Regions from separate parts of the Homo sapiens genome. Here all the other regions are linked to region 1. The links are contacts of gene promoters, found by promoter capture Hi-C in blood cells and fetal thymus (Javierre and others, 2016). All regions are on one chromosome and are shown on one strand. The core of a region is centred on a gene start or on the middle of the fragment in contact, and the rest is flanking DNA. Distances in the headings are between cores, read along the strand shown.

Region 1 (7,248 bases), core at 4,307-6,806:
GAAGGATCACTTGAGCCCAAGAAGTAAAGGCTGCAGTGAGCCAAGATTGTGCTGCCACACTCCAGCCTGGGCAACAGAATGAGACCCTGGTCCCCAAGAGAGTCAGACCTCAATCAGGTTTGGGAAGCACTGCATTCAAGGCCACCATATCTGTCACTTTAGTAATAGTTGCCAGTAACTCAGAAAAATAAAATGCTTTGTTTCTTCTATTCTTCAAGAGTTTAGATCAATTAAAGCAGGGGTTCCCAAATATAGTACTGGTTCTTAACAAAGTTTTCAACAGCCTGCAGTGAAATGAGAAAAAATGAACACCACATGATATCTTTTTTATAAAACTAAATGTATTCAAATTTAAAAATGGTCCTTTATTCTGAGATGATGTTCTTCCTGTCTTGTTGTTTCTTAAAATGCCCTTTATGAAATACAAGGGCCAGAAAATAATAGGTCTTTCTTTTTATTTTTTTTTTATATATCCTTACTTGGCAAAATAAAAAGTTGGAAAACCTGTGTCTACCCAGCAATTTGGGAAATTTTGCTGGCTCAGAAAGTCTGACAATCACTGACCTCGAACATGTCAGGAAATCCTGTTGAGTAGAAGTAAAAAAGACAAAATGACACTCAGTCTAAGGTACTCACCTGAATGGAAAACAAAATTGCTACTGTATCTCAACCTCATTCAAACAGCACTATATGGGAAAAGAACAAACAGCATCCTTACCTGATAACTCAAGGCAAATGATAGGTATATACTATACTTGCAATAATAGCTTTACTGGGCAGGGGGATCTCAGCATTAAAAAGAGATGAACTGAGGGTTTACCCATAAGTCTTCCTGTTATAATGACTAAATACAAGATATACTTAATAAATTCTGACGTGCACAGGTGCTGTGGCCCAATGGCTATGTGGTCAGCCTTTGGAGTCAGACCAACCAAAGATGGAGTCTGATCTTGGCCTCATCTGCAAAACCCAACGTGTATGATCTTGGGCAAGGCCTTACCTACCTCCATATCTGTCTATATCTGTTGCCTCCTATTTATGTATTTATTTAGAAACAGGGTCTCGTTCTGTTGCCCAGGCTGGAGTGCAGTGTTGCAATCTCAACTCACTACAACCTCTGCCTCCGGGGCCCCAGAGATGCCCCCACCTCAGCCTCCTGAGTAGCTGGGACTACAGGCACACACCGCCATGCCTGACTAATTATTTATATTTTTTGTAGAGATGGGGTTTCACCATTTTGCCCAGGCTAGTCTTGAACTCTTGGACTCAAGCAATCCACCTGCCTCAGCCTCCCAAAGTACTGGGATTACAGGTGTGAGCCACCACACCTGGCCTGTTGCCTCCTATTTAAAGTTTAAATTAAAAATAGTCCTTACCTCTGTCATGAGGCTGAAGTGAGATACTCAGAAACATGCCAGTTCTATGCCAGACACATTGGAAGCCATAACTATTACATAATCAGCACACTATAAGCCCTTAATAAGTTGGAAATTTTTTTCCTTTTCTTTTTTTTTTTTTTTTTAATTTACAGGGTCTTGCTCTGTCGCCTAGGCTGAAGTGCTGAAGTGCAGTGGCACAATCTTAGCTCACTGCAACCTCTGCCTCTAGGGCTCAAGTGATCCTCCTGCCTCAGCCTCCCGAGTAGCTGGGACTACAGGCACACACCATCACAGTCAGCTATTTTTTGTGTTTTTAGTAGAAACGGAGGGGCTCACCATGTTGCCCGGGCTGCTCTCGAACTCCTGACCTCAAGCAATCCACCCACCTCAGCCTCCCAAATTGCTAGGATTACAGGCGTGAGCCACCACGCCCAGCAAGTTGGAGATATTTTAAAGTAGCATGATAAAGGGGCTGAAACGTGGCAGCACTCCAGCCATCTAAGGTTAAAGACAGACTATTCATTTGTGAAAGATATGTCAAGACTTAAAATGCTGATGGGGATGGTCCCACAGAAAAACCTAAGCTTTCAATTTGTTTCCACTCTCATCTGTTTAAACACCCAATACCAATATTTTGGAAAAAAAAAAAAGTTATCAAGAATACTTCATCATTCATCATCTTACAGGTATCCTACATAACTACCTTCCCAAATATAATTACTATTAAGGAAACAAATTTAGTATTAATATTATAACTAATACTATTCTATGCTGAGTATTAACAATAATTACCATTTTTTATAAGGAGTTTACTAAGAGCCAGGCAAGGTGCTAAGTGCTTTAAATCGAATATCTCATCTAATCCTCACAACAACCCTGTGGATTAGGTACTACAACCTCTATGTTATTTTTTTTGTTTTCTTTTGTTTTGTTTTGTTTTGAGATGGAGTCTTACCCACTCTGTCGCCCAGGCTGGAGTGCAGTGCACCATCTCGGCTCACGACAACCTCCGCCTCCCGGGTTCAAATGATTCTCCTGCTTCAGCTTTTCAAGTAGCTGGGATTACAGGTACATGCGACCACCATGCCCAGCTAATTTTCTATATTTTTAGTAGAGACAGGGTTTCACCACGTTGTCCAGGCTGGTCTCGAACCCGTGACCTCAAGTAATCCGCCCGCCTCAGCCTCCGAAAATACTGGCATTACAGGCTACAACCTATTTTAAAGAATAGCAAATGGACTCAGAAAAGGTAACTGACTCACCCAAAGTAATGCAGCTAACTAGTGCTGGGACTGGGATTCAATTCTAAATCTTCATGGTCTCTATTGTCCCCCTGACTTACGAATACATAAATCAAACAAGGATTTCTACTTCACCAGTGTTCCACATACATCAGAAACAAAAGAATTAAAAATCTATTTGGAAGTAATCTTATGATATTAAGTTTTAACGCATCTGGGGTGACAGAAATGTGTATCTTGAGAGGAATGAGGGTTAAACAGGTGTGGTATTCATCAAAACTTTTTTTAAAATCTTAAAAAATACCATCCTGACTAACACAGTGAAACCCCGTCTCTACTAAAAATACAAAAAATTAGCCGGGCGAGGTGACGGGCGCCTGTAGTCCCAGCTACGTGGGAGGCTGAGGCAGGAGAATGGCGTGAACCCCGGGGGGCAGAGCCTGCAGTGAGCCGAGATCGCGCCACTGCACTCCAGCCTGGGCGACAGCGAAGACTCTGTCTCAAAAAAAAAAAAAAAAAATCTTAAAAAATAAACATCCCTGCAATGAAAATGAATAGGATTATACCCACAGAAATTGTAGTTTTAAAAAGCATCTTTGTTCATTTATTTTTCTTTCTTCAATAAAAGGACAAACTTGCCCTGGTACAGGGGCTTATGCCTGTAAGCCCAACACTTGCAGAAGCTGTGACAAGTAGATCACTTGAGCCCAGGAATTCGAGACCTGCCTGGGCAACATGGTGAAACCTCATCTCTACAAAAAATACAAAAATTAGCCAGGTATGGTGGCACACACCTGTGGTCCCAGCTACTCAGGAAGCTGAAGTGGGAGGATCGTTTGAGCCCAGGAGGTCAAGGCTGCAGTAAGCCGTGATTGTGCCAATGCACTCCAGCCTGAGCCACAGAGCAAGACCCTGTCTTGCAAGCAACCAATCAATCAATGAATGAATAAACTTTAGTACAGAAGTGTAAAGTGTGAGAAATATGAAAAGATCTCCCTTCTAAGGCAAGTTCAGCTATCTACTTCTGCACAGTGTCTTTTTTCCAAAAGAATCAGTGCATATAAAACTCTAAATAGAGGGCCAGGTGCAGTGGCTCACACCTATAACCCCAGTGCTTTGGGAGGCCAAGGCAAGAGGCTCACTTGAAGTCAGGTGTTCTATATCAGCCTGGGCAACACAGTGAGACCCCATCCCTACAAAAAATTAAAAAATTAGCCAGGCATGGTGGCACAGGCCTAGAGTCGACAGAAGACCTTGTTTCAAACAAAACAAAACAGAATTTCCCCTAAAATATTATCCCTGGTCCTATAATAAAAGCAAGCTGGGCACGGTTCATGCCTGTAATCCCAGCACTTTAGGAGGCCAAGGCAGGTGGATCACTTGAGGTCAGGAGTTCGACCCTAGCCTGGCCAACATGGTGAAACCCCGTCTCTACTAAAAAGAAAAATACAAAATTTAGCCGGGTGTGGTGGCAGGCGGCTGTAGTCCCAGCTACTCTGGAGGCTGAGGCAGGAGAATCGCTTGAACCCAGGAGGCGGAGGTTGCAGTGAGCTGAGATTGCACCACTGTACTCCAGCCTGAGAGACTGAGACTCTAAATAAATAAACAAATAAATAAAAGCAAAGGTGAGTGACAAGGAGATTCCAAGGACACACACAGGTGAGCAAAGTTGGCAGGGTAGGCTGTTACCTGGAAGAACAGATTCAGCCTGGAGGCCCGGCTGGCAATGGGTTCAGCAGCACCAGCATCCAAAGGATTCCGCGCTCCATATTTGAACTTCAACATCTCCCCACTGGCGCTGAAAGGATATCAGAAAAGTCAAGTGTGTCCTATGTTTTGAGCAGGAAGGGCCTGAGAGATCCTGATCTCCCTCAAGATATCAGGGACAAGGAGGTGAAAATCAGCTACCACTCCAGTTTTAGGAAGCTCAGTCTAATCATGGAGATTAAACACCAGATTTTAACTCACTGTGACAGGAGATGATACACTTATCTGACATACTCTCTTACTTATAAATGTGTTTATTATCTCCCCCCTTAGAATGGAAGCTCCACAAGGGCAGAGATGTTTGCCCCCATGCAGTGGGGGCACACATAGCCTGGCACACAAATAGGTGCGAATAGTTATTAAATGAATGACTGAAATAAGCAAAATATATAGCTTGTTGTAAGGTGTTAAGTGCTATGGGGTAAAAACAAAATCGAGCAAGAAAAGGACAATGGGGGTGAGATGGTGCAATTTTTAGTGTGGTCAAATAAGACTTCACTGAGAAGCCACCATTTGACCCAAGACTTGAAGACCTGAAGCGAATGACCAGCAAGCCATGTTGATATCTGGGGAAAGAAAGACATCCGTGGCAAACGAAACAGCCAAGCCAAAAGCACTGAGGCAGGACCTGGCCTCTCCAGCAACAGCGAGGCCAGACGGACTGGAGCAGAGCGAAAGAGGCGGGGGCATCATGAGGTGATGGGGTGGGCACGGGGTATGAATACGCTGAAACAGAGAGGTTAAGTAAATGGCTAAGTTCACGCAGATAATAAGGAACCGGCCGACTACACTGGGCAGAATAATGCAGTTAGTGCTGACAGGAGGCAGAGCTGAAGAGACAAAGCACTCCGCCTGGTTTAGGGGAGGAGCAAGCCTCCTGCCCCAGCACCACTCGGCTGACCCCTCGGCTCCCAAGGAAGGTGGGCGCGCGCACAGCTAGCCCCGGAAGACCCTCCAGGCCTCCCGCAGCCCTGGGGGTGGAATCGCCGCCCTCCCCGGGGCGGGAGGGAAACCCGGGACTTGTATGGGTGGAGGCGGCCCTCCCCTGGCCTTGCAGAGCCGGGTGCGGTAGAATTGGGTCTGGGGGATCAGACTCACGCTCTGCGAACCCCCAGGTCTGCGATCTGTTCCGCCCCGCGCCTCCCGCCGCCGCGTTTGAACCCGAGGAACGGCGCGGGCGGGTCTCAGCCGTGTTTGGACCAATCAGCGTCTCCGCTCCTATGATAGACATGGGCGTCTCAGCCAGGCCCCGCCCATGTCCCTAAAGGCATGGAGGAAAGTGAAGGGGAGAGCCAATCAAATTGCATCTTCCTTTGACTCGCGACCAACGGGAAAAAGGGAAGGGCAAAATCAGCAGGGCAGGTCTTGGAAGTTTGAAATTGGCGGTTACGCAGGATGCTGCGTTTGAGGACGCGACTGTTAATCTAGGATCCCTGAGGAGGTCGCCAGGGCGCTGTCCCCTGCTCTCGGCCACCTGCAAGGAGGAAGGCAGCCAGGCTGCTCTGCCTGGTCTTCTTTCTCTCTCATGTGGCTAAGGTAGAAGTACTTGTTACCTGGGGAAGCCCAGTGGTCCTCTGCTACAGCTGAGGCAGCGAATGTTTTGAGCTTGACTTCAACCTACCTTGATTACTCTATCTCCGGGCTGACTGCCCTGCAAGGAGTTGGTGACAGTCATTGAGACTGTCTGAAAGGACACTTTAAAATAAATTATAGACGAGATACTTAAACAGGCACTTCACCAAAAAGGAAATCCAGATGACCAACAAATGTGTGAAAGTTGTCAACCTCGTTCATAATCAGAAAATATGAAAAATAAAGTCACAGTGAGAAAGAATAACACTCAAATTCGAGAACAACAACAACAAAAGGATGTGACAGTGTTTGCGAAGATGTGGAAGTACACACACTTATACAGTACCCGTAGGCGTGTAAATGGATACAATCTCTTTGAAATTTGAAAAAAAAGTTTGGCATTATTTGCTAACATTGAAGATTTGTGCATTCTATGACTATTGCTAGGTGTAGTTTCTCTACCTAAGAAAAACTCCTATTTATTTATTTATTTTGAGATGGAGTCTTGCTCTGTCTCCCAGGCTGGAGTGCAATGGCACGATCTCGCCTCACTGCAACCTCCACCTCCCAGGTTCAAGCTATTCTCTTGTCTCATCCTCCCAAGTAACTGGGATTACAGGTGCATGCCACCATGCCCAATTGTTTGTATTTTTAGTAGAGATGGGGTTTCACCGTGTTGTCCAGGCTGGTCTTGAACTCCTGACCTCGAGTGATCTGCCCACCTCGGCCTCCCAAAGTGCTGAGATTACAGGCCCTGAGCCACCACGCCGGCGAGAAACTCCTACTTATGTACACCAAGAGATGTGTATAAGAATACAAAATAGTGTTCGCAAAAAACTGGAAGTGATATAAATGTCCATCAGCAGTAGAAAAGACAAAATTGTATATTGCAGTGTTTTCACAAGCAATGAAAAAGAATAAACTGCAACTAACCACAATGACATAATGAGTCTCAAAACAAGGCCTAATGAAGGAAGCAAGAAAATAACATATGATTCCATTATGATTCCATTCTTATAAGTTCCAAAACAGGACAAAACAAAGCAACATTGTTTAAGGAGGGATGTATTAGGTTGATGCAAATCATTGCAGTTTTTGTCATTGTTTAAAGTAATGACAAAACCATAAAGAAAGCAACAGCCAGAATAGTAGTTACCTGGGGTTGGGATGGAGGCCTTTCAGGGTGTTGGGGTGCTGCTGTGATCTATTTCTTAACCTAGGTAGCAACAATATGGATGTGGTTTCATAATGATTAAATTGTGTGTATATGTGTGCACGCATGTGTGTGT
Region 2 (7,798 bases), core at 3,932-6,431, 190 kb before region 1:
TGTTGCCCAGGCTGGAGTGCTGTGGTGCCATCTTGGCTCACTGCAAGCTCCGCCTCCCGAGTTCACGCCATTCTCCTGCCTCAGCCTCCCGAGTAGCTGGGACTACAGGCCCCCGCCACCACGCCCGGCAAATTTTTTGTATTTTTAGTAAAGATGGGGTTTCACCATGTTAGCCAAGATGGTCTCGATCTCCTAGCCTCGTGATCCACCCGCCTCGGCCTCCCAAAGTGCCGGGATTACAGGCGTGAACCACCGTGCCTGGCCAGGTTTTGTTTTTTCTAGAAAAGGGAGGCATCACTAGCCATCTTCTCTGATGGAGACTGCTGCTGGGAATAGACAAGCTGAGAGTGGCCCAGGGGGCTGGGAATATGAGAATGTCAGGACCCCTCTGTCCAAGGTAGCACTAAGCTCTAATGTAAACTGTGGTTACAGTTGTCACTACTAAAGGGTTAACATTTATTTTGCCCCAAACTAATCTTAAGTGCTTTTCGTGTATTCTTATTCAAGCCTCACAACAACCATGTGAAGTAGGTGCAATTATTACCCCCATTTTAGGGATGGGGAAACTGAGGCACAGAGCAGTAGGGAGAACACTTAAAATCTACTGTCTTAGAGATTTTCAAGAATACATTGTTACTAATAGTCACCGTGTTGTACAGTGGATCTCTTGAACGTATTCCTCCTGTCTAACTGAAATGTTGTATTCTTTGACCAGCATCTCCCTACCCCCACCACTCCTAGCCGCTGGCAACCACCACTCTACTCTCTACTTCTGTGAGTTCGACTTTCTTGGATTCCACATAAGTGACATCACATGGGATTTGTCTTTCTGTGCCTGGCTCATTTCACTTAATGTCCTCCAGGTTTATCCATGCTGTCACAGATGACAAGATTCCTTTTGTAAGGCTCAGCAGCACTGCATTGTGTATCAGTACCTCATTTCTTTATCCATTCATCCATTGTGGACACCTACGTTGATTCCACGTCTTGGCTATTATGAATAGAGCTGCAGTGAACGTGGGAGTACAGATATCTCGACATGCTGATTTCATTTCCTTGGAGTATCTACCCTGTAGTGGGATTGCTAGACCATGTGGTAATTTTAGTTATAACTTTTTAGGAACCTTCATGCCATTTTCCATAATGGTTGTACTAATTTACATGCCCATCAGCAGTGCACTAAAAGTAGCTTTTAAGTGTTCTCACCACAAAAACATGGTAAGCATGTTCTGCGTGTGTTGATGAGCTTGATTTAGCCATTCCACAATGTGTCCATATTTCAAAACAACATATTGTACATGGTAAATATACATAATTTTATCTGTCAATCTTTGAAATTGATTAATTTTTTAAAAACCCCTCTTAGGCTCACACAGCAACTGGCTGAGCCAGCAGTCACATCAGGCTTGGCTGGTGCCAGATCCTTGGTAGTTGGTGCTCTCAGCAGCCACCCTGAATGGCCTCCCAGCGGGAGCTTGCTGAGTATTTGTTGACACAATGATTGGCCCAGCCTCTGGGATCCTAAGCCTACAGCAGTTGTTCTACACTTTTTTCCATTTGAATTGCATTTATAACAGTTGGGGGTATACAATGAAAAAATAAATCCCGATTTCTGGCTTCTCTTAAAACATAGGAAGGTGCGGCGGGCAGCTCTGAGTGCCAGCCCGGTGGCAGATTTTCCAGAGTAGTGGTGTCTTGCCCAGGTATCCGTTTCATTCTTCAGGTTCATTGAGTCTTACAGATACAAGTTTTGAATCCATTGCTCAGGAGCGTTTAGTGCAGATGGTCTCTTCCTGTGTTCTCTGAAAGTGCTGTTAATAGCTGCTTTCTTCCTGCCCCACCCTCCATAAGAGGACAGGGCCGTGGCCCACACTTGAAAGAGGCCGGGGTAAATGCCTGGCCAGAGACACACACCGATGCCTCCAGCAGGCATGCAGGGAGCTCCCTTCAGGTCAGAAGGCGTGACCTTCATCTCACCTGTCGTCTTGGACAAGCCCTTGCGCTGCCTGATTTGGGAAGAGAGGTCGGCCTGAGCGCTGCCTCCTGTCCTTTGATATCTGGCACTGGGAAGTAAAGGGGAGAATCTTGGTTTCCAAATCCCAAATGCTCACCGCTGCCTTTGTTCCCTCACAGTGTGATCCAGCTTTGCTTCCTGAGCCCAATCACGTCATGCTGAACCACCTATACGCGCTGTCTATCAAGGTAATGACATGTCTGTCCCCATGAGAGCTGTGTTGCCCAGTGTGTGCTCTGAGGACCCCCAGCAGTGGAATGACCTGGCGGGACTGACTTAAAGGGCAGCTTCCAGGGTCTGGCACAGGCCATCAGGCTCAGGTTCTGAAGCTGGCCCGGGAATTTGTGGTTTTATGAAGCCCTTAATGATTCTCATGTCCTCTGAGGCTTGAGCCCCTTAGTCCAGCCTTTGATCATTTCCACCTTGTTCCTTAGGATGGAGTGATGGTGCTCAGCGCAACCCACCGGTACAAGAAGAAGTACGTCACCACCTTGTTATACAAGCCCATATGAAGAGCTGGGGGCGGATGGTGGCCCAGGAGACAGCACACCACCAGGCTCCACACGTGCATGCTTTCCCCAAGAGGGAATGGACTGTACATTGCTCATTTCACACTCTTCAGAAGACATTTCATACCTGCCCTGGTCCTGCTTGAAGGTTTGTCCAGGCAGAGCAGCTCCTGCAGCGCCTCGGTCTGTGACAGTCCTCCTAGCACCCCCATGGCTTTGAGCCTCGGGGACTCATCAAGTCCAAGAAAAGAGGGAGGGGTGGCAGAGGATCTGCAGCCCTGGCCCCGCGGTGCATGAGGCTGGGTGCAGTTCTAAACCTACATTCTCGATTTTTCTTAAGCCAAAAATGAATGCTAACTCCTTTGCCAGTAAAATTCTGGGAAACAGGGACTGAGGCCACACATCATTTCCAGTCATCTGTGTGTTTTTAAGGCCAGCCACTTGTCCCTGTTGAGGCCTGGCTATGGAACTAAATACAGTGTTGGTCTTGCCTGTCCTTCAAAATCAACAACAGATTGTCTCTCGGCTCCAGGGAGGTGTCATTTCTATAGAAATTAGAAGCTTTCTGATTTCTAGATGAGGTTTTACAATTGTTTCTTACAGTCATGTGCACTAAGTACTCTTTTTGTAAGCAGAGGTGGCTGGCTCTGCAGCCTTAAGGCCATTTTTTAAGTCACCACGTCTAGAAGTCACATGAACTCTGCTCAGCAATAATCTGTTCTCAGAACAGACTTTTCAACCTGCTGCCGGATTTCTCCATTCAGCTGGATGATCCTCAGGACTGACCAGTTAGCTGGCAGGTTGTCCAGCTTTTTATTCCAGTCATAATAGGTGACAGTGTTAACCGTGAAAACTTGAGAGGCACTCTGCCCTCTTCCCTATAAAATCACACAGCGTGATTTTACAAGGTCCCGTGGCACCTTGCTCAGGACCTCTGCCCCTAGTTAGCAAGACTGCAGCAGTTGCTGTTGCTTATTCTGAAAGGAATGTAGAACTTGACAGCAGCCTTCTGAGTCTGGGTCAGGAAGATGTCCTTTGGACCAAAGCAGACTTCTTTATACGCAGCTCAGTTTCCCGGGAGTCGCCACAGATGTACCCACTAGCCCAGGTTGCTGTGAGTCAGCGGAAGCTCCCGTTATGCCCTTTGCTCCTGGTGGGAGAGGGAGGAGTGAGCTCCCTGGGTTCCAGTATTTACTTGGTATACCTGAGTTTGGGGGTACCCTTTTTTGTGACTTTTCAAAACAGTGAATTACTGTCACCTTGATGGACAAGTTTCAATAAAACTTTGTAAAAATAATTGGACATGTGCCTGGAGGAGCTCTGATTTTATTCAGTCCCTTGGAGAAGAGACTGGAACTCTTCGAGAGTTGCGTTTCAGTACCGTTCTTGTGGCTCTGAGCGGACAGGGCTACTCCAGCTGCCCAGGCCTGAGAACCAGTCCTGTGACTCACACCCATTCACACAGTTTGGAACCTTAAGGGACCCCTAAAACTGAGCCCCTCTGAACAGCTCAAGTCACAAGGGGAAGCTGAAGAGGGGTAACAGCAGAGGCTCCTGGCTTCGGCCAGTTGTTGGTGTCCCCAGGCCAGAGGGTTTGTTTCCTTTTGCTCCTAAACAAGCCCGGTGGGACAGCCTGGGATCGTGACCCTGGCGTGTGAGAGAGCAGGACGTTGTGGAGTCAGAGCTGTTTTCATCCACTAAAAGAGGCCGTGTCCCTCCTCCAAAAAGGTGGAAGGTTATGGGTGTTCCTTTAAGCCTTCTCAGGTATCAGGAAACATTTTAAATTTAGCAGAAAAGCATGCTAATGAGCTCTACCCACTGGTGCAGAAAACCCAAGCTGAAAATGCTATGTAAAATAAGACTGGTTTACTGGAGCCAGTCACCCCATGAGTTCTCCAAGCCCTGGGGCCACAGGGGACTTCCAGGTGAGGTCACTGCTGAGATGATGGAGGAGACACAAAACAAGAGGACATGGTCAGAGACAACACATCTCTGTGCGTATTCAAAGGATTTCATTTTCTTTAAAAAGCACATTATAGTCGGAAAGCCTGCCCACCAAGTGAAAGCCTCCATACCCAAGAAGCTAAAGGTTAATGGTGATTTTACAAAGGTGGAAAAGGAGACCTTGTTTTGCCCAAATCACAGGGGCAAAGCCATATGTCAAATCGTGTCCTATGACCAAGTAATCCTTTCTTCATTAGCATTTCCTTTATGGGTGAGGACTTAGTTAAAGCTTAACTCAAATTGCTTTTCAATGAAGATACATTTTTCCCTCTAGAAGCTGATATACAGATGAATTTATAGAGCCAAATTAAAGCCTAAAAAATTACTAAAATGTAAATCAGTATTGCAGGGCTAAGGCCACAAACAGGAAGTCAAAAGGCCAGACAAGAAAATTGTGCCTGCACCTCAGCTAGCTCAATTAGGAAATCTCCAAGGCTCCTAAAAGACTGAGAGAAAAAACCTGGAACATCATGATACGATCTGTGGCTGAGGTCAGAGACTGAACGAGCCAGTCTAGGAAAGAACAAAATTTCATTTTAATTCAGTTCCTTTTGTATGAGCACAGTTTCACTTTCAAGCATTTACTTCCCATATCTGATCCTCCTCTGCTATTGTGTCACCTTCAAAATTCAAATGTCCCCAATGTGATAGTATTAAGAGGTAGGGCCTTTAAGAAGAGATTAGGTCATGAGAGCCCCTCCTCTCATGAATGAAATTGAGGTTCTTATCAAAGAGGCTTCAGGCAGCATTCAGCTCATGTGCCCTGGCACCTTCTGCCATGTGAGGACACACAGCTTTTCTCCCCTGCAGAGGACCCAAGCACAAGGCGCCATCTGGGAAGCAGAGAGTAGCCCTCACTAGACAAGCAAACCTGCCCATGCCTTAATCTTGGACTTCCCAGCCTCCAGAACTGTGAGAGAATGAATTTTTGTTCTTTATAAATTACCCATTCTCAGGTATTTTGTTAAAGCAGCACTAAATGGGCTAAGACATCCACCAATGTTTACAAATGGTTTGAATGAATTGATGAAGACCCAAGACATGGACCACTCATCAAATCATAAAGTTTCTGAGGAATAAAAGCTTCAGCACTCATCTTGGCCAGCAAATTAGTGGAGAAACAAACTAGAGCCTTCTGCCCTGGTATGCCAACTATAATTGTCTTCAGGAGAAAACATGGAAGTTGTAGATACGTATACATTTCTTCTAAAACCCCAGTCATCCCTATTAATTGTAAAAACATCCACAGGATCCTCCTAAGAGTCATCGTCACTATAGTGAGTCAGACATTTGGAGAAGATCCCAAAAGCTGGAGCAGCAGCCGGAGCCCCGTCTCTGGGACCCCAGCCACTGGCTCTAGAACGAGCCACCAGGCTCTGCCCTCAGGGTGGGCTCCCACAACTACATTGTCGTCTTGTCTTTCATACAACTAAAGAGCCTTTCCCCAGATGAGGATGCCAGCTCTTACTGCTACCTCCCCCTAAAAGAATTCACCCATCCCATCTGAAATACTCAGTGGCCAGTGAGAACAGGCCAAGATGTGTATACCCTTGGTCGATTTTTTGTTTCCTTTTTTGTGGCTCTCTGAAAGACAGCCTGACTTATGCAGAGTAATAAAGTCATTTTCAAGGTTCTTTCATCTACCTCTAACAATCTCTCTAGGGCAAATAGAGTTCCGTTCATCATTAACAGACTCAAGGGAAAACAAAGTGATCAACACTGGACTCTATTTCCACTACCCCCACCCTCCCCAGCTTCAGGAAACAGCTTCAGCATTTGAGTGGGCAAATAAGAAACTATTTTTCTCATTTAACACTGTAGGCCTAGAGCCACGGTCTACATGCTTTAGACATCATTAGCAGTATTTAAATTGCCAAGGAAGACATGGGACTAAAACTAGAACAGACCACGGTTTCTCAACCTTGGCACTATTGAGGCTTTGGGCCAGATAATGCTTTACAGTGGGGGGCTGTCCTTTGCCTTGTAGGATGTTGAGCAGCATCTCTGACCTCCACCCATTGGATACCAGTAGTACTCCCGAGTTGTGACAACCAAAAATGTCTCCAGACATTGTCAAATGTCCTCTGGGAGGAGGGAAGCAAAATCTCCCCATGGCTTAGAACCAGTGGAACAAGCCAGTGTAACCACTGTATTCTGAGAATGGAATCTGAGCTGGCCCCCACGAATGCTTTCTATAGCAAATCACATTCAAGAGGTCCAATTCTGAAGACAGTCCTATTAAGCAAATTCTCTTTTGGCCTAACCCTCCAAATCCTAAAGTTCCATGGTTATGGAATTTGCTATGCAATCAACCTCTTTAGTCCGGTGACAATTAAGTTGTAAGCGCAGAAAACATGACATCTAATTTTGTGCTTATGAAACAGGAGTGGCCAGCATGAAGAGTTAGGCCTCATTTTACGGTGTGGCTGTGGAATTGGTTGGTTGTTTCTTTCGGGCTATTCCTTAGGGTTCAAACACTCTTCCTTGGCACTTCCTTTTGAAACCAAACTATGTTGACTTAGCTTTGGAAGTTTTCTGTGACCTCCCACAATCCTCTAGACAATCACTGAAATGCTTGGTTGATATTTAACAGATGTTTTTCTAATGCTACAAGGAAAGAAAGGTTCACATTTCACCACTTCATCTTCTGAATTATTTTCATTCTTACAACTACGACCTTGTGGCAGATTTTCATGCCCAACAGTAACATCGAAAAGAACAGAATTGCATCTGTGGTTCCCATCACAAGCAACAAAGACAGATACGACTCTGCGAGTCCAATTTTGACCGTGGTCAGACGACTTCATTAGAAAATAAAAATTCAAAGACTACAACCCACAGGAACCATGAAAACAAAAACATCACCATTTGCCAAAACCCGTTTGTCTGGATCGAGCAAGTTTATACTAACAAACTAAAGAATGAGAAAAAATTTATCTTGCAGACTGTAAAAGTTCCTCTACTTAAAAATGGAAGTATTTTCATTTTTAATTACCTTTGATTTGAATTCTTCTCTACAAAGAAATCTACATTATTAAATTGTAGTTGGCCTTTTAATAGATGAAAGATATCTTGAGCTGACCTGTTCCTGGTTAGCTGATTATAGAACTGGGTAATCCATTCTTCAGTAATCCTTTCCAAATGTCCTGTGTGACTGCTTGAAGAGCTTTCCAGCTCTGCAGTCCTATAAAATGACCTTAATAGCCAGTTCATGGTTCACTGGAAGTATTGACCAAATTTCCACAGTCAAACTCTTGGCAGAGAATGTCAC
Region 3 (7,809 bases), core at 4,049-6,548, 210 kb before region 1:
GAGATTTGTGTGGGGACACAGCCAAAGCATATCAGGAACTGTGAGCAATAAAACTATATTTTTAATGGCAATGGTCTTCCGATCCATTGGCCTTACCATACATGAATAAACCCAAAGTCCCAGGTACATTCTAGAACAGTATATCCTACAACATTTTAAAAAATACATTAAGGAAATGATAGATTCAGTACCTTAAGGCAGCAGTCCCCAACCGCCAGGCCACGGACCAGTACCATGGTACGTTAGGAACCAGGCCGCACAGCAGGAGGTGAGCAGTAGGTGAGCAAGTAAGGCTTCATCTGTATTTACAGCTGCTCCCCATCGCTCACATTACTGCCTGAGCTCTGCCTCCTGTCAGATCAGTGGTGGCATTAGATTCTCACAGGAGCACAAACTGTATTGTGAACTGCGTATGCGAGGGATCTAGGTTGCATGCTCCTTATGAGAATCTAATGCCTGATAATCTGTCACTGTCTCCCATCACCCCTAGATGGAAGCATCTAGCTGCAGGAAAACAAGCTCAGGGCTCCCGCTGTTTCTACATAATGGGGAGCTGTGTAATTATTTCATTATATATTACAATGCAATAATAATAGAAAAGTACGCAATAAATATAATGTGCTTGAATCATCCCAAAACCATCCCCCCAACCCTAGTCCATGGAAAAATTGTCTTTCACGAAACCTGTCCCTGGTGCCGAAAACACTGGGGACCACTGCAATATAGTACATCTGTGCAGCAGTAGTTTTGCATGGTGGCTAAGAGCATAGACTCAAGAATTAAATTTCCTGTATCTAAATCCTGGCTTCACCACTTACTAGCTTTGTGCCATTGGACAAGTTACTTCTCCACTTGTGCCTTAGTTTTTTCTTATGTAAAGTGGGGATAATAACAAAATGCACCTCTTAAAGCTTTATAAGAAGTACATGGCTTAAAGCAAGGAAAGTGCTTAGGACAGTGGCAGGTGTACAGTAAGCACTCTATACATAGACCTCTTCTTGTTATGAAATCTGCAGTCATTACAAAACTGAGGTGGCGGGACATGGTGACACACAACTGTAGTCCCAGCTACTCAGGAGGCTGAGGCAGGAGGATCACTTGAGCCCAGGACTTTGAGGCTGCAGTGAGCCATGATTGCACCTGTGACTAGCCTCTGCACTCCAGCCTGGCAGCATAGCAAGACCCTGTCTCTTTTAAGAAATTTTTTTTTTACTTAAAAATTTTTTTAATTAAAATTTTAAAATGAGGTGGAGCTGTATATGCTGATATGGAAAGATATGCTAAGGAAAAAAAGTACTAATTGCTTGCATTTTTAAAGAAGAGCGATGTAAGTACTTTTTCTATAGTTATAATTATAGGAAATTATAATTATAATAATTGTAACAAAATATACCCCCAAAAAGTATACAAGAAACTCTCAACAAGTTATTTGAGGGGAAAGGAATTAATGATGTAGGAGAAGGTGTAAGGGAGACTTTTGTTTTTGATTCTGTACCCCCTCCCATACTGCTTGAAGTTTTTAACCATGTTCATCCATACTTTAAAATACATACATTTAATTTTTTGAAAGGCCATAGGAATAATCTTTGTTGCTCTTTATTGCCACCTAGGGGATGCTAGGGGCATTGCCTGCCATGATCACTCATTGCTGTTAACCCTATTGACTATTTAATAATTGATTCCACCTTCTTGATTAGTACGTTACACCCAGCAAGTCATGGCTTCCAACTTTCAGATTTTTATTGAGTTTTGTAACAATAAGAAACATGGTTGGGAAATTGATGCTCTTTTGAAAAAAAAGAAAAGAAAAAACAAACATGGATTCGTAGTTAGAAAATTTTTTATTTTTTTAATTTTTATTTTTTAAAATATAATAAAGATGGGGTCTCGACAGCTTGCTCAGGCTGGTCTTAAACTCCCGGACTCAAGCTATCCTCCCGCCTCGGCCTCCCAAGCTGCTGAGAGCCACTGCATCTAGCCTAGAAAATTTAATAGATATTAAAACAATTGAACACCTAGTTTGTTCTCCCTCTCTGAATGACCATTCCAGCTTTATACTTATAATCTAGATCAGCCCAATCCATTGGCCCACCCAAAATGATTTCATCCCTCACTCAATGATCTGTCCGTGGTGGCTAAAATGTTGACATCTGTCTGGTTGCCTGCATTTGAATGCTGGTTTCATGACTTTCTAGTTGTGTGACCTCGAATAAGTCACTTCATCTCTCTGAGCCTCATTTTCTCCTGAAAAATGCAAGTGGTAATAATAGTAGATCCCTCAAAGGACTGTTGGTGGCATTACATGAGTTCATACATCAAACACAATGCCGAGTGCATAATAAGGATTGATAAACAACTTTCACTTTAACACCTACAATCTCCAAATCTCAACTTGATTGTCACTTCCTTCAGCAAGCCTCCTCTGACCTCAGGACTTGGTCACATCCTTCTCACTAGGTCACACTTCTCCTTCTTAGCGTTTGTCACAGAAGACTGTTGGATGATTGTTCGATTAATTTCTCTCTTCCCTACTAGATCGTAAACACTCAGGACAGAGCCTGGGTTTGATTTTGCCCACAATTCTCTCCCCAGTGTCTACCACAGTGCCCGGTGGATAGGAGTTTTTGCCATGAAAAAGTTATTGATAAAGAAATGAATTAATGCAATTAGAAAACTGAAGGCCTCTGAAAAAATCAATATTAACTAGAACAAGTGCCATGAACTAGTTAGGTTCTGATGGGCTAGATGACATGAGTCATGAGACACTTACAGGGAAGGACAGGGTGCGGAGAGGTTTATTTTGTAAGACAGTTGCAGAAAATAAATTGGAAAAAAGATAAACTGTACACCTCTACCATTTGTTCTAGGACTAACCCTATTTTCTTTGAGGTAAAATTCATACAACATAAATGTTAATTTTAAAGTAGACATTTTTAAGTGAACAATTCATAGGCATTTAGTACATTGACAATGTTGTGGAACCACCATCTATGCCAAGTCTTAAAACATTTTCATCATTCCAAAAGAAAGCCCTCATTCCCTCTTCCGCCAAGCCCGTGGTCACCACCAGTCTGCTTTCTATTGACATGGATATATCTATTCTGTATATTTCATATAAATGGAATCATATAATATATGACCTTTTGTGTCTGGCTTATTTCACTTAGCATAATGTTAATATTTTTGAGGTCATCCACATTGTAACATGTAACAGTACTTTATTCCTTTTTGTGATAGAAGAATATTCCACTGTATGAACATACCACAATTTGTTTATAATTCATTTTGTTATTGTTGTTACAGAGTCTTTCTCTGTCGCCCAGGCTGGGGTGCAGTGGCACAATCTCAGCTCACTGCAACCTTCGCCTCCCAGGCTGAAGCAAGTCTCATGCCTCAGCCTCCCAATAAACTGGGATTACAGGTGTGCGCCACTACAACCAGCTAATTTTTTGTATTTTTAGTACAGATGGAGTTTCACCATGTTAGCCAGGCCGGTCTCGAACTCCTGGCCCCAAGTTGATCTACCCACCTCGGCCTCCCAAAGTGCTAGGATTACAGGTATGAGCCACTGTGCCAGCCTACAAACTCATCTCTTGGTGGACATTTGGATTCTTTCCACCTTCTGTCTATTATGATAATGCTGCCGATCCCTGTTTTTTAAAAGTCTCCATGGTTCATCATATCAAGAAGAATGATAATCTCACAGTACCCTGGACCAGAAACCAAGACATAAGATCCAAATTATGATCTATGACCACTAACTTTTTCTATAATTCAGCAAGCTATTGTCCCTCCTCATCTGTAACCTATGTGGTTGAACTAGGATTTTCATGCAATTAGTGTGTCTTGGGAGGTGTTTCTGAGTATTTATTTGGAAGGTGCTCCTAAAAAGAGATAAAGAAAAGGAAAGGAAGATAATCAATGAATTCCTTGATCCAATTACTGCTGTGGACATCTAGGGTGCATTTCCACTGGGGACCTCTGAGACACGGTAGGGAATATATCTTAGTTATACGAGAGCTAAAAAGAAATTATTTAGACAGTTAGTGAGGGTAAGAGAGTCCTCAGTAAGGTTTTTCTTTTAATAAAAACGCAGTCTCCAAATCATTTCTTTTTTTAACAAAAAGCAGCCTGAAAAATCAAGCTGCAAGCATAGATAAGCAAGCTAGAGGCTTGCATAGGTAAATACCAGCAGCTGTGCCAATAGAAAACAGATAGCTGGAAACCAGGTATATTCAACATGGAGGTTCCCTCTTCCCTTTTCTTTGTTGCCACGTGTGCAGATAACATGGCACCAGCCAGGTTTTTTAAAATTCCATTTGCATAATAAAAGATTAGAGTGGGATGACCAGCCTCTTCACGGGCTATGAAAATGGCACATCTGGTCCAACCAATCCACTACACCCCATGTAAATCATATACCATCTCCTCACGCTCATCCCTAAAACCAACCACACCTTGCCCCAAACCAGGGAAACCCACTCAGGACCCCTTCTTCTGCATGAGGAAGCTCTCTTCCTTCTTTCATCTATTTAACTTTCCACTCTTAAACCCACTCCTTGCATGGCCATGTCTTCAATTTCCTTAGCATGAGACATCGAACCTCGGGTGTTACCCCAGAAAAATGACGCTGCTTCATTAGAGTTAGCACATCCAAGGGGCAAGGGAACTGGCTCCTCTGTGGTTGGCTGAGGGCTTCTCTCAGGGTGTCTTCTCTGGTCCCCTTGGGTTCCCACTTGTGTCGACAAAGCTTTCTCCAGAAGGCCCTCAGAGTTGCACCTGCTCACAGTTAGGAAGTTTGGGGCATGCGCAGAAGGGCACATGCAGATGGGGTATGATGGTCCCAACAGCATATGTTAAAGTGATTATGAAACTTTGATATTCAAATCCCTGGGAGCTTACATTTTAAAGAGATGAGACAGAGACAGACTTCCTCTCATTGTTTTCACCTCCGTTGGATCTTTGCCTGGATACTGCTTTAGTTTGTCACTTGTCCTCTAGAAAAGGGGTAGAAAGTGTACATCCTTTTCTCCTCCATTCCTTCAAAGCTCTTAAAAGAGGATAGAGATGCCAGGTGCAGTGGCTCACACCTGTAATCCCAGCACTTTGGGAGGCCGAGGAGGGTGGATCACCTGAGGTCAGGAGTTTGAGACCAGCCTGGCCAACATGGTGAAACCCCGTCTCTACTAAAAATACAAAAAGTAGCCAGGCGTGGTGGGGTGCGCCTGTGGTCCCAGCTACTTGGGAGGCTGAGGCAGAAGAATCGCTTGAACCCGGGAGACGGAGGTTGCAGTGAGCCGACATTGCACCACTGCACTCCAGCCTGAGTGAAAAGAGTGAAACTCCATCTCAAAAAAAAAAAAAAAGAGGATAGACTTGAGGTGAACTTTATTAAGAACATTGTGTTACCTTGAACTGGGCACTTCTCCCTTCTAGGTTTCAGCTTACCCTGTGAGTGAAGCTATTTATTTAAAAAAAACTTTATTGAAAATAAAATAAAGATACAGGAAACTACACAAAAGAAATGTATGGCTTAGTAAGTTACTACAAGGCAAACATGTTAATAATTACCAACCCAGGTCAAGAAACAGAATTTTCTCAGACAACCTAAAAGTCACAAAATGAGGCTATTTGCCAATTAAGGTTGTAGACCAAATGCTGTAGAATGAACTTCTTTTAATTCTATGTTGATGACTCTCTGTCACAATATTCACATCTCAGTGCAAAGAGAACACAAGAATGTCTAGCAAGAAAAGATGGACAAGTTTCTCAAACATTGGCAGTGTTACTTACATTGGCTAGGCAAAATTCAGAAGGCCTGGTGGAAATCTGGTTAAGCCCTAAAAGTAAGCTTGTAATTCTATCCTAGCAGCCCACACACATTTGAGTCTGTCTTAGTCAGCTCAGACTGCTATAACAAATCATCAACTGGGTGGCTTAAACAACAGAGATTTACTTCTCCCAGGTCCGAAAGCTGGAAGTCTAATATCAGTGATATAATTTGGATACTTTTCCCCCTAAATCTTACACTGAAATGTAATCCCATGTTGGAGGTGAGGCCTCCAACATGGTGGGAGGTGACTGCATCATGGAGGTGGACTTCTCATGAATAGTGTAGCACCATCGTCTTGGTGCTGCCCTCACAAGATCTGGTTGTTTAAAAGCGTGCGGCACCTCCTCCCACTTTTTTTCTTACTCCCACTCTTGCCATGTGATACATCAATACATCGGCTCCCCCTTGGCTTCCTGAGGCCTCACCAGAAGCAAGCAGATACCCAGAGCCATGCTTGCTGTACAGCCTACAGAACCATAAGCCAAGTAAACCTCTTTTCTTTATAACTTACTCAACCTCAAATATTTCTTTATAGCAATACAAGAATGGCCTAATACAATCAGGGTGCCAGGATGGTTGATGTGTGGTGAGGGCTCTTTCCCTGAGTTGCAGATGGCCGCCTTCTTGCTTTGTCATCACATGGCCTTTCCATTGAGCATGGGCGTGAATAGACAGCATGCGAGCAAGCTCTCCAGCGTCTCTTCTTCCCATAAGTACCCTGATCTCATCATGGGGGCCCCACTCTCATGAGCTCATCTAACCCTAATTACCCCTTGAAGGCCCCACCTCCAAACATTATAAAATTGGGAGTGGGAGTGCAAATGTATGAATTTTGGGGGGATACAATTTAGTCTACAGCATAGTCCAAATGTGAAATTTCTTCCTCCAGCTACCGATGTTTAGTGAGAACACTGCCTGTTCTCACCACATGTGCATATGTGTGTGGACTCTTTCCTCTGGAGGGCAAGAACTTGGTTTTGTTCACTGTTGTAACCAAGAGTTACAACAGTGCCTGGCTCATAATTGGCACTCAATATTGCCATTGAGTTATTTGTGATCAGAGCCCTGGCTGTTCTTAGATGGGGAGGGTTCTTCAGAACAGTACAAATGTTTGTAGACAGGCCAGCTGGGGAACCAAAGGTCTTTTTGATGAGGTGCCATGACCATGATGTAGTGGGGAGTGGCCAGGTGATCCAGAATTCAGTCTCAGTATGACCTATGATCATCTGAGTGACCTCAGGCAAAACTGTTCGATCTCTGGGACTTAGACTCTTCCTTATATAAAACAAATGGGTTGGTCAGTTCAGAAGTGCTATACTGATTCTAATCCATCCTATGGAGGAGGCCCCAAAACATTATCCTTAACCCTTTTAATCATAAATTTAAGGATAAATGAGATTTTATCTCACTCTGGGTGACTTTTAAGGACTTGAAAACCTACTTCTTTTTGTGCTTGGAGCTGGAGTGAATTTGAAGCCAGGGTTGCGGGGGTGGGGGAGGGGTACTCCTAGCTGTGGCTGTGTTAAAATTGCCCTGGTTTGTTTGGGGGAGAATCTAGGGTATTTATCATTTGTCTTTGCCCTGGTGCCAGACAGACAGCAGTGAGTAGATGATGCCTTTTACACAGCAATGTGCTAACAGTTATACTTCCTGGCACACCTCCAGCCCCCAAGATGGAATGGTCTGACATCCATATCAGCAGAGAATCAGAGAAAGATGAGACGCTCTGATGCTTAGGAAAGTCACAAACCATTGTTACACAGATAAGTAACACAAAATGACCCAAGAGAGACACAGCTGGGACCCAAGTAGACACTTGTAATTGGCGAGTCTACCCTACCCATGATTTTCAATATGGGGTCAATAGCTGATAGATACCAATGTTAGTTTCTTTGTCATGAAATCTTGATACAATGTGGTAAGAGTTTCCAATCAGCAGTTGGTGGCATCCTCAGGATATTGTTGATTGTATTTGA
Region 4 (7,512 bases), core at 2,502-5,001, 180 kb before region 1:
TGAAACCCCATCTCTACTAAAAATACAAAAATTAGCCAGGCATGGTGGTGTACACCTGTAATCCCAGCTACTCAGGAGGCTGAGGCGGGAGAATCACTTGAACCCAAGAGGCAGAGGTTGCAGTGAGCTGAGATGGCACCACTGCACTCCGACCTGGGCAACAGAGGGAGACTCTGTCTCAAAAAAAAAAAAAAAAAATTATAATACATCTATGGAATTCTGTGCAGCTGTAAACATGCATGAAAAGGCTCTCTTTGTACAGATATGAAAGAATGCCCAAGGTACACTGCTCAGTGCAAAAAGCAAGGTTCAGAATCATGTGGGAAGTATTCTGCCTTACTGATTTTTAAAAAGCTGGAAAAAAGAATATATATATTTTATGTGCTAGTATTTGCATAAAGTACTGGAAGGACAAGAAACTCATATGAGCTTTTTTTTCTTTGGAGGAATAGCGATGGAGAATTTGGGAGATGGACTCTCTGGGTGAGACTTTTCATTGTATACCTTTTAAAACTGATTGTAAACATCTTCAAAGAATTCAATTTTTAAAAAGACTAGGTTCGGGCTGGGCGCGGTGGCTCATGCCTGTAATCCCAGCACTTTGGGAGGCCGAGGCGGGTGGATCACCTGAGATCAGGAGTTCAAGACCAGCCTGGCCAACATGGTGAAACCCTGTCTCTACTAAACATAGAAAAAATTAGCCGGGTATGGTGACAGGCGCCTGTAATCCCAGCTACTTGGGAGGCTGAGGCAGGAGAATCACTTGAACCCGGGAGGTAGAGGTTGCAGTGAGCTGAGATTGTGCCATTGCCCTACAGCCTGGGCAACAAGAGTGAAAATCCGACTCAAAAAAAAAAAAAAAAAAAAGACTGGGTTCTATTTTAAAAAAAAGACTGGGTTCACAGCTATTTAGACATTGCTGGTCTTCTTAATACTCTATCTCTGCATGACAGTGTCACTGAAACTAGAGCACACAGGACTGGAAATATTTTCTGCCTTAAAGGGAAAAAGCACTATTATTCCTTGTGGCAAGACTTGGTATTAGACTTTTAAAGTCATGGGCTCTGGTATGCGTGCCCCGGTGCAGTTCCCTGGCCTTGAATCTGGGCTGACTCTGCGGTCTGCTCTAACCAGTAGAGCGTGGTGGAAGTGAGCACGCTTGCCAGCTTCCGCTTCTATATTCTTGGAAGAAGCCAGCGTGGAAAGCAACAAGGCCTCCAGCCACCAGCCGCAGCTAAGCGCCCACATTATGGCCAGCACTCATTGCGTGCCATGTTTGTGAGCCTGTCTTGGGCTTTCTAGTTGTCCCAGTGGCCCTGCTGATACCACATGAAGCAGAACTGTCCAGTCAAGCCACGGAGTTGGGGCCAATAATAAGCTGTTGTTTGAAGTCACTAAGCTTTCAGATGGCTTGTTATGCAGCAAGAGAGAAACAAAATAGCCTCGAAGGGTATCTGGGCCACGACGGCATTTCAGAACATTCACACAGATACGTATGTACATACTTGTATGTGTATGTGTGTTTAGTCTTTGATCCAACAGTTCCACTTTTAGGAGCTTATAATCAGGGGGTGCTATCTAACAAGTGCAAAAAGATTAGTACAAGGATGTTCATCGTAGTGTTGTTTACACTTACAAACAAAACGGGCATGGCCTTACTGCTTTGCCTAATTAGAACTGGTTAAGTGAACAGGTGTTCAGCTATGCCATGGGACACTCTGCAGCCTTTGGAAATGACTGAAATAAATCTACAGGAATTGGGCTCCTTTCTATCATGAGAGCCTAGCAAATATTTCCCAGGGCTGGGACTGTGGGCTGGTGAATCTGGCGTAGGCAGCTCTTCATCGAGCCTCAGAATCTTTCCATGAACAGTTCTCCGGGTGACTGTTACACATGGCACTTGGTATCTAATGGAATTCACATGCACAGTGCTTAGGCCAAAAAAGAAAAAAATTTCCACTTGCAATTGCGGTTTTTTTTGTTGTTTTTTTGAGACAGAGTCTCGCTTTGTCACCCAGGCTGGAGTGCAGTGGTGTGATCTCAGCTCACTGCAACCTCCGCCTCCTGGGTTCAAGCAATTCTCCTGCCTCAGCTTCCTGAGTAGCTGGGACTACAGGCACATGCCACCATGCCTGGCTAATTTTTGTATTTTTAGTAGAAATGGGGTTTCGCCATGTTGGTCAGGCTGGGCTCAAACTCCTGACCTCATGATCCACCCGCCTCGGCCTCCCAAAGTGTTGGGATTACAGGCGTGAGCCACCGCACCCGGATGCAATTCTTTTCCAGGACACCAGCTGCTGGCAAAAGAGAAGCCCCCACACTGAGCCTCACGTACCAAAGGCCAAAGGTAAGCGACTCCACTTGAGATCGTCTGTGCGGCTACGTCTTCCGTAAGAATCCACGAACACTCCAAATTCTGCAAGGTGTCAAGAGCACGTGGGCATTAGCACAGCCAAGAGCAGGGGCATCAGCGACACACATGGTGATGGAAGAATGAGGAGCAGAGCCCAGGGACCCCTGGCCAGATGGGACTGACTGTGAAAACCAGAGGCCCTCTGCTGAGCCAGCTCTCAGCTTTATTAAAAATGAGGGACTTTTTAAATTTAATTTATTTTAATTTATTAAATTTTATTAAAGAAAGAGAACTCAAGTGAAAAGAAGGAAAGGAATAAGAGGAGGAGAGGGAAAGAGAAAGAGACAGAGAGAGAGGGGAATGAAGCGATCCGGAGGAAGGAGGACAGACAGGGAAAGACGGAAAGACTCAGGAAAGAAGGGAAGGGGGAGGGGAGGGAGGGGATGGGGAGGGGGAGGGGAGGGAGGGGATGGGGAGGGGGAGGGGAGGACCCAAGAAAGAAAGAAAAGAAAGAATGCAACAAAGAAAAGGACAGATAGAAGGATGGAAAGGGAGGGGAAGGGAGGGGAGGACGAAATGAGGACAGAGTAAGAGAAAGGAAAGGGAGAGAAAGAAAGGCAAGGGATGGATGAGGAAAAAACTGCCTGCTCTTTGGAGAGAATGTGATAAAGTTAGACCACGCTAGTATCTGGTGATGGAGAGGAGCATCCCCAAGGGGACTTGGTGGTGCTGGAAGGACATTCTCTGTACCCCTAGTCAAACCTATCCTGCCCCAGAGCTCCATGTACCCTCCTCCAACCCCTCATGGGTCCCTAGTGTCCATGAGGACCCAAAAGGGCAGTGGGCGCAGCCACGACTCACCGTGGAAACACAGCAAGTACTCCTCTCGCTGCCCTGCGCTGTTCACCTGCACGATTGAGACAGGGAAGCTGTTGGAAGAGGCGGCAAACACAGCAGGTGCCAAGGAATGGTCATTCTTATCCAGGAATTCTGTAAAGGCAGGCGAGAAGCGGGGCTTCAGGAGTGAGTTCTGAGTCTCAGCGCGGCCTGAGCCATGGGTGGGTGCGAAAGTGGAGGTGGGTCCTACCCTCGAGCGTGTACTGCTTCATGTCGATTTCGTAGAATTTATTGGTTCCAATGAGGATACTGTAATTGGTGAAGTGGATACAGCTGCAGGGCTCTGAGGTCTCTATCTCCTGAGACATGAGAGCAGAAGAGAAGGATGTGAGAGGTAACACAGGGCAGCCAAGGTCCACAGCTGTTCTGCTTCTGCCTACAGCATCTAGCCAAGCCCTGGAGAACATTGTCACCAAGCTTGTTCACGTTGTCATAGAGAGCCATTCATCTTTTTTTTTTTTTGGAGACAAGATCTCGCTCTGTCACCTAGGTTAGAGTGCAGTGGTGTGATCATAGCTCACTGCAGCCTCAAACTGCTGGGCTCAAGCAATCCTCCCACCTCAGCCTCCCAAAGCATTAGAATTACAAGCTTGAGCCACTGCACACGCCCCATTCACCTTTCATGCCTCTCAGGATGAACAGTGATCCATTTGTTTTCTCTTCCTATTGTTCCATGCAACCCAAAACTAAGAAAACAAGGTCAAACTGCAGCCAAAAAAAGGTGGGGTCAGAAACACCATTCCAGGCTGGGCGCAGTAGCTTACATCTGTAATCCCAGCACTTTGGGAGGCTGAGGCAGGTGGATCACCTGAGGTCAGGAGTTCGAGACCAGTGTAGCCAACATGGTGAAACCCCGTCTCTACTAAAAATACAAAAAATTAGCCAGGTGTGGTGGTGTGCACCTGTGATCCCAGTTACTCAGGAGGCTGAGGCAGGAGAATCGCTCAAACCCGGGAGGCAGAGGTTGCAGTGGGCTGAGATAGTGCCATTGCACTACAGCCTGGGCGACAAGAGCAAAACTCTGTCTCAAAAAAAAAAAGAAAGAAAAGAAAGAAACAGCATTCCAATGAAGAGACAGATCTTGAACAATACAACATTCTTATCACAGGAAAAAAAAATACAGGAAAAATACAACAACTATTAACAGTGGTGGTCAGCAGCAATGGTTTTGGTTTCCTTCTTTTTGCTAGCTTCTAAGTTTCTAGTTTGAACCTATATTACCTATGCAGTCATCATCATGATCATCATTATTGTCATCTTAATTACCTGCTTCCTGATTATTTTTAGTTGTTTTTAGGCCAATCCTAATGTCATCAAAAAACCAGGCACACCTATTCAAAATGTGTGGCCGGGAATCATAAAGAAGCAATGATTTCTGAGAATTTTCCTGAAGCTAACAGTTCAAATTCTAGTGAGCATTATCATCATCACTGAATATTTCTTGGTCACCTACTAAGTATGGGAAAACTTTGAGGAAGCACGATATAGTGAAATGCTAGGAAAAAAAATCAAACTTCAGTTCTGGCCTCAACTTTGTAACTGAGGATTTTCTGCCAGCCTCAGTTGTCTTACCTGAAAATTGGGAATAACTGTCTCTGCTTTTCAGAACTGTGGTGAAAGGTGCTTGTAAAACAGCCAGTTCAGTCCCTTACAGGGTGGGCACCCAATGAACACACCAACTAAACTAACACCACCCTGCCCAGAATGGAACAGTTTCTCTAACAGGTAATGACCCTTATATATTATTCACCCTTCATTTCACTTTTTTTTTTTTTTTTTTTTTTGAGATGGAGTCTTGCTCTGTTGCCCAGGCTGGAATGCGGTAGTGCAATCTCGGTTCACTGCAACTTCCACCTCCCACGTTTATGCAATTCTCCTGCCTCTGCCTCCCACGTAGCTGAGATAACAAGCACCCGCCACCATGCCCGGCTAATTTTTGTATTTTTAGTAGAGACAGGGTTTCACCATGTTGGCCAGGCTGGTCTCAAACTCCTGACCTCAAGTGATCCACCCTCCTCGGCCTCCCAAAGTGCTGGGATTATAGGCCTGAGCCAACATGCCCAGCCTCATTTCATTTTTGAGACTAATCATGAAAGCACCAGAAATATATCAGGCTTAGGAGGAGTGGGACACTCCGAGGTAGGGACATCAGACAGCATTCTCCAGAAGCCAGGCAGATTTAAGGATCTAACACACATCTCGTCCATATTGCAGTCATCATCACAGCTCACTCTGCTCCGAAAAGAAGGAGCTCCCTAATTACATATCAAAATACTGCTAGCACTGGTTATTGCAGAAGGTTATATTAATAGACACCTCTAGAATTTGAGAAAGATTCTGATAAGTGCTACCTGGGACTGCTAGGATCTTAGAAAGAGCCCCCCCTTTTTTTTTTCCACTGGTTTTTCCTATCAGTCAACTTTCTGTTCTAACAAAAGGCTGAACTCACTGGGCTGGATGGGGAGGCAGTTCGCAAATGTGAGAAGAAAAGCAGGAGGGAAACCGCAGCTACTAGTGGCCCTGGGGAATCCTCCACAAAGGAAGGATCTCGCTGACGACAGAGGTCACCCCAGGCTAAAGGCCCGCAGGGTAGAAGGAACCCAGTACAGGCTGTGTCCCAGGACAGTGCACTTTCCACACTGGCTCGCTGAGAGAGCAGGACTGGCTTTCCCACGTTCAACCAAGGCAAGGCCCAGGACTTACTTTCCGGATGCAGTATTTGCTGAGGTTTTCGTTGTAGCGGAGAATGACGACTTTGCTGGGCATGGCTGCACAGATGCAGAGCCCGTTCTCAATCTGAAAAGCAACCAAGAAAAGAAAAAGACTGTCACCAGTGTGATACCGGCTGTGGGGCAAAACTAGGAAAAGCTCTCAGGCTCAGCGCCATTGATGATTCAGACCAGATCATTCTGTGTGGTGGGGGGAGGGCTGTCCTGGGCATCGCAGGATATGAGCAGTATCCCTGGCCTTGACCCACTAGATGCCTGCAGCACTTCAATGTGTGACAATCAAAAATGTCTCCAGCCATTACCAAATGTCCCCTGGTAAGGCAGAATTACCCCTGGTCGAGAACCAAGGCTTTACCTGGGATCCAGAGAAGGCCTCAGGGAGGCACCTGACACCACACACCTTTCCCACACATGTGCCTTCTGCTGGAGACAGAATCTTTTGACAAACTTCCCTTGTGAGGAGGGAGAAGACAGAATGAGGGAAGGGAGAGGAAAGGTGGTAGAGACTGCTAAACGAATTTAGAGAAAATTTCTTTTCTTCTGAGACGGAGTCTCACTCTGTCGCCCAGGCTGGAGTGCAGTGGCATGATCTCGGCTCACTGCAGCCTCCACCTCCCGGCTTCAAGCCATTCTCCCACCTCAGCCTCCCAAGTAGCTGGGACCACAGGTGCGCACCACCATGCCTGGCCAATTTTTGTATTTTAAGTACAGATGGGGTTTTGCCATGTTGGCCAGGCTGGTCTCGAACTCCTGGCCTCAAGTGATCCGCCTGCCTCGGCCTCCCAAAGTGCTGGGATTACAAGTGTGAACCACCACACCCGGCCCACATTTAGAGAAAATTTCAATCCAAAAGGAAAAGTTCTTAGCTAAGAACTCATACACGTGCAGAGTTCTACATCAAAACGCTCTTTTTCTAGAACAGCTGAAACCCTTTTAACGTCTCCTGCTACAACCAGATGTTTATCATTCACCAAATGAGGCTTACTGCTCAAATTAGTCCTGGCACGAAGGTCAGCAGCTGGTACAGTGGGAGAATGAAGATGGGCCGGGATAAGGGAGGAACACACAAGAAAAGGGAAATTGTTAGCAATGTTCTATTTCTTGGACTGGGTAGTGAGTGTGTGGATGCTTACGACATTATTAGGCTTTATGATTTACATATATGTTCCATACATTTTTTGAACAGTTCAGATATTAGAATGAAAATAATTTCTAATTTAAAAAACTAATTTTTATTAGCTGGGCATGGTGGGCATGCCTGTAATCCCAGTTACTCAGGAGGCTGAGGCAGAAGAATCACTTGAACCTGGGAGGCAGAGGCTGCAGTGAGCCAAGATCACACCACTGCATTCCAGCCTGGGTGACAGAGTGAGACTCTGTCTCAAAAAAAAAAAAAAAAAAAAAAAAAAAAAAAATTTTGGCCAGGTGCAGTGGCTCATGCCTGTAATCCCAGCACTTTGGGAGGCCAAGGTGGGTGGATCACTTGAGGCCAGGAGTTCGAGACTAGCCTGGCCAACATGGTCAAACCCTGTC

Evidence for each region. The method cuts DNA at HindIII sites, captures the fragments that hold promoters and counts their contacts. A CHiCAGO score of 5 or more calls a contact.
Region 2: a fragment that was not itself captured here is called in contact with the fragment with the promoter of CIT in region 1 in 2 of 17 cell types (M1 macrophages and M0 macrophages); the score reaches 6.6 in M1 macrophages.
Region 3: a contact is called between a fragment that was not itself captured here and the fragment with the promoter of CIT in region 1, in 1 of 17 cell types (endothelial precursors). The highest score is 5.8, in endothelial precursors.
Region 4: a fragment that was not itself captured here is called in contact with the fragment with the promoter of CIT in region 1 in 1 of 17 cell types (M2 macrophages); the score reaches 5.3 in M2 macrophages.

Annotation. Positions count from the first base shown.
Region 1 is chr12:119,871,764-119,879,011 of GRCh38, forward strand. CIT (citron rho-interacting serine/threonine kinase) reads right to left here and starts at 5,557. Exons shown (of 48, transcript NM_001206999.2): 1 at 5,486-5,557; 2 at 4,310-4,418. The coding sequence starts at 4,405. RefSeq lists an enhancer at 4,947-5,006 and a silencer at 5,237-5,316. The HindIII fragment of the contact is 6,661 bases long and covers 1,962-7,248 here.
Region 2 is chr12:119,677,800-119,685,597 of GRCh38, forward strand. LOC124903033 (a long non-coding RNA gene) reads right to left here and starts at 7,687. Exons shown (of 2, transcript XR_007063485.1): 1 at 7,523-7,687. PRKAB1 (protein kinase AMP-activated non-catalytic subunit beta 1) reads left to right here. Exons shown (of 7, transcript NM_006253.5): 6 at 2,134-2,202; 7 at 2,449-3,820. The coding sequence ends at 2,526. RefSeq lists enhancers at 1-104, 105-604, 1,408-2,607, 4,203-4,262, 4,433-4,562. The HindIII fragment of the contact is 854 bases long and covers 4,755-5,608 here.
Region 3 is chr12:119,657,873-119,665,681 of GRCh38, forward strand. The region is part of intron 1 of PRKAB1-AS1 (PRKAB1, TMEM233 and CCDC60 antisense RNA 1); the gene reads right to left. Among named protein-coding and RNA genes, the nearest start is that of PRKAB1-AS1, 6.4 kb to the right of the region's middle. The HindIII fragment of the contact is 1,101 bases long and covers 4,749-5,849 here.
Region 4 is chr12:119,698,410-119,705,921 of GRCh38, forward strand. It overlaps CIT (citron rho-interacting serine/threonine kinase), which reads right to left. Exons shown (of 48, transcript NM_001206999.2): 41 at 5,954-6,046; 42 at 3,441-3,549; 43 at 3,215-3,343; 44 at 2,336-2,416. Among named protein-coding and RNA genes, the nearest start is that of MIR1178, 12 kb to the right of the region's middle. The HindIII fragment of the contact is 172 bases long and covers 3,666-3,837 here.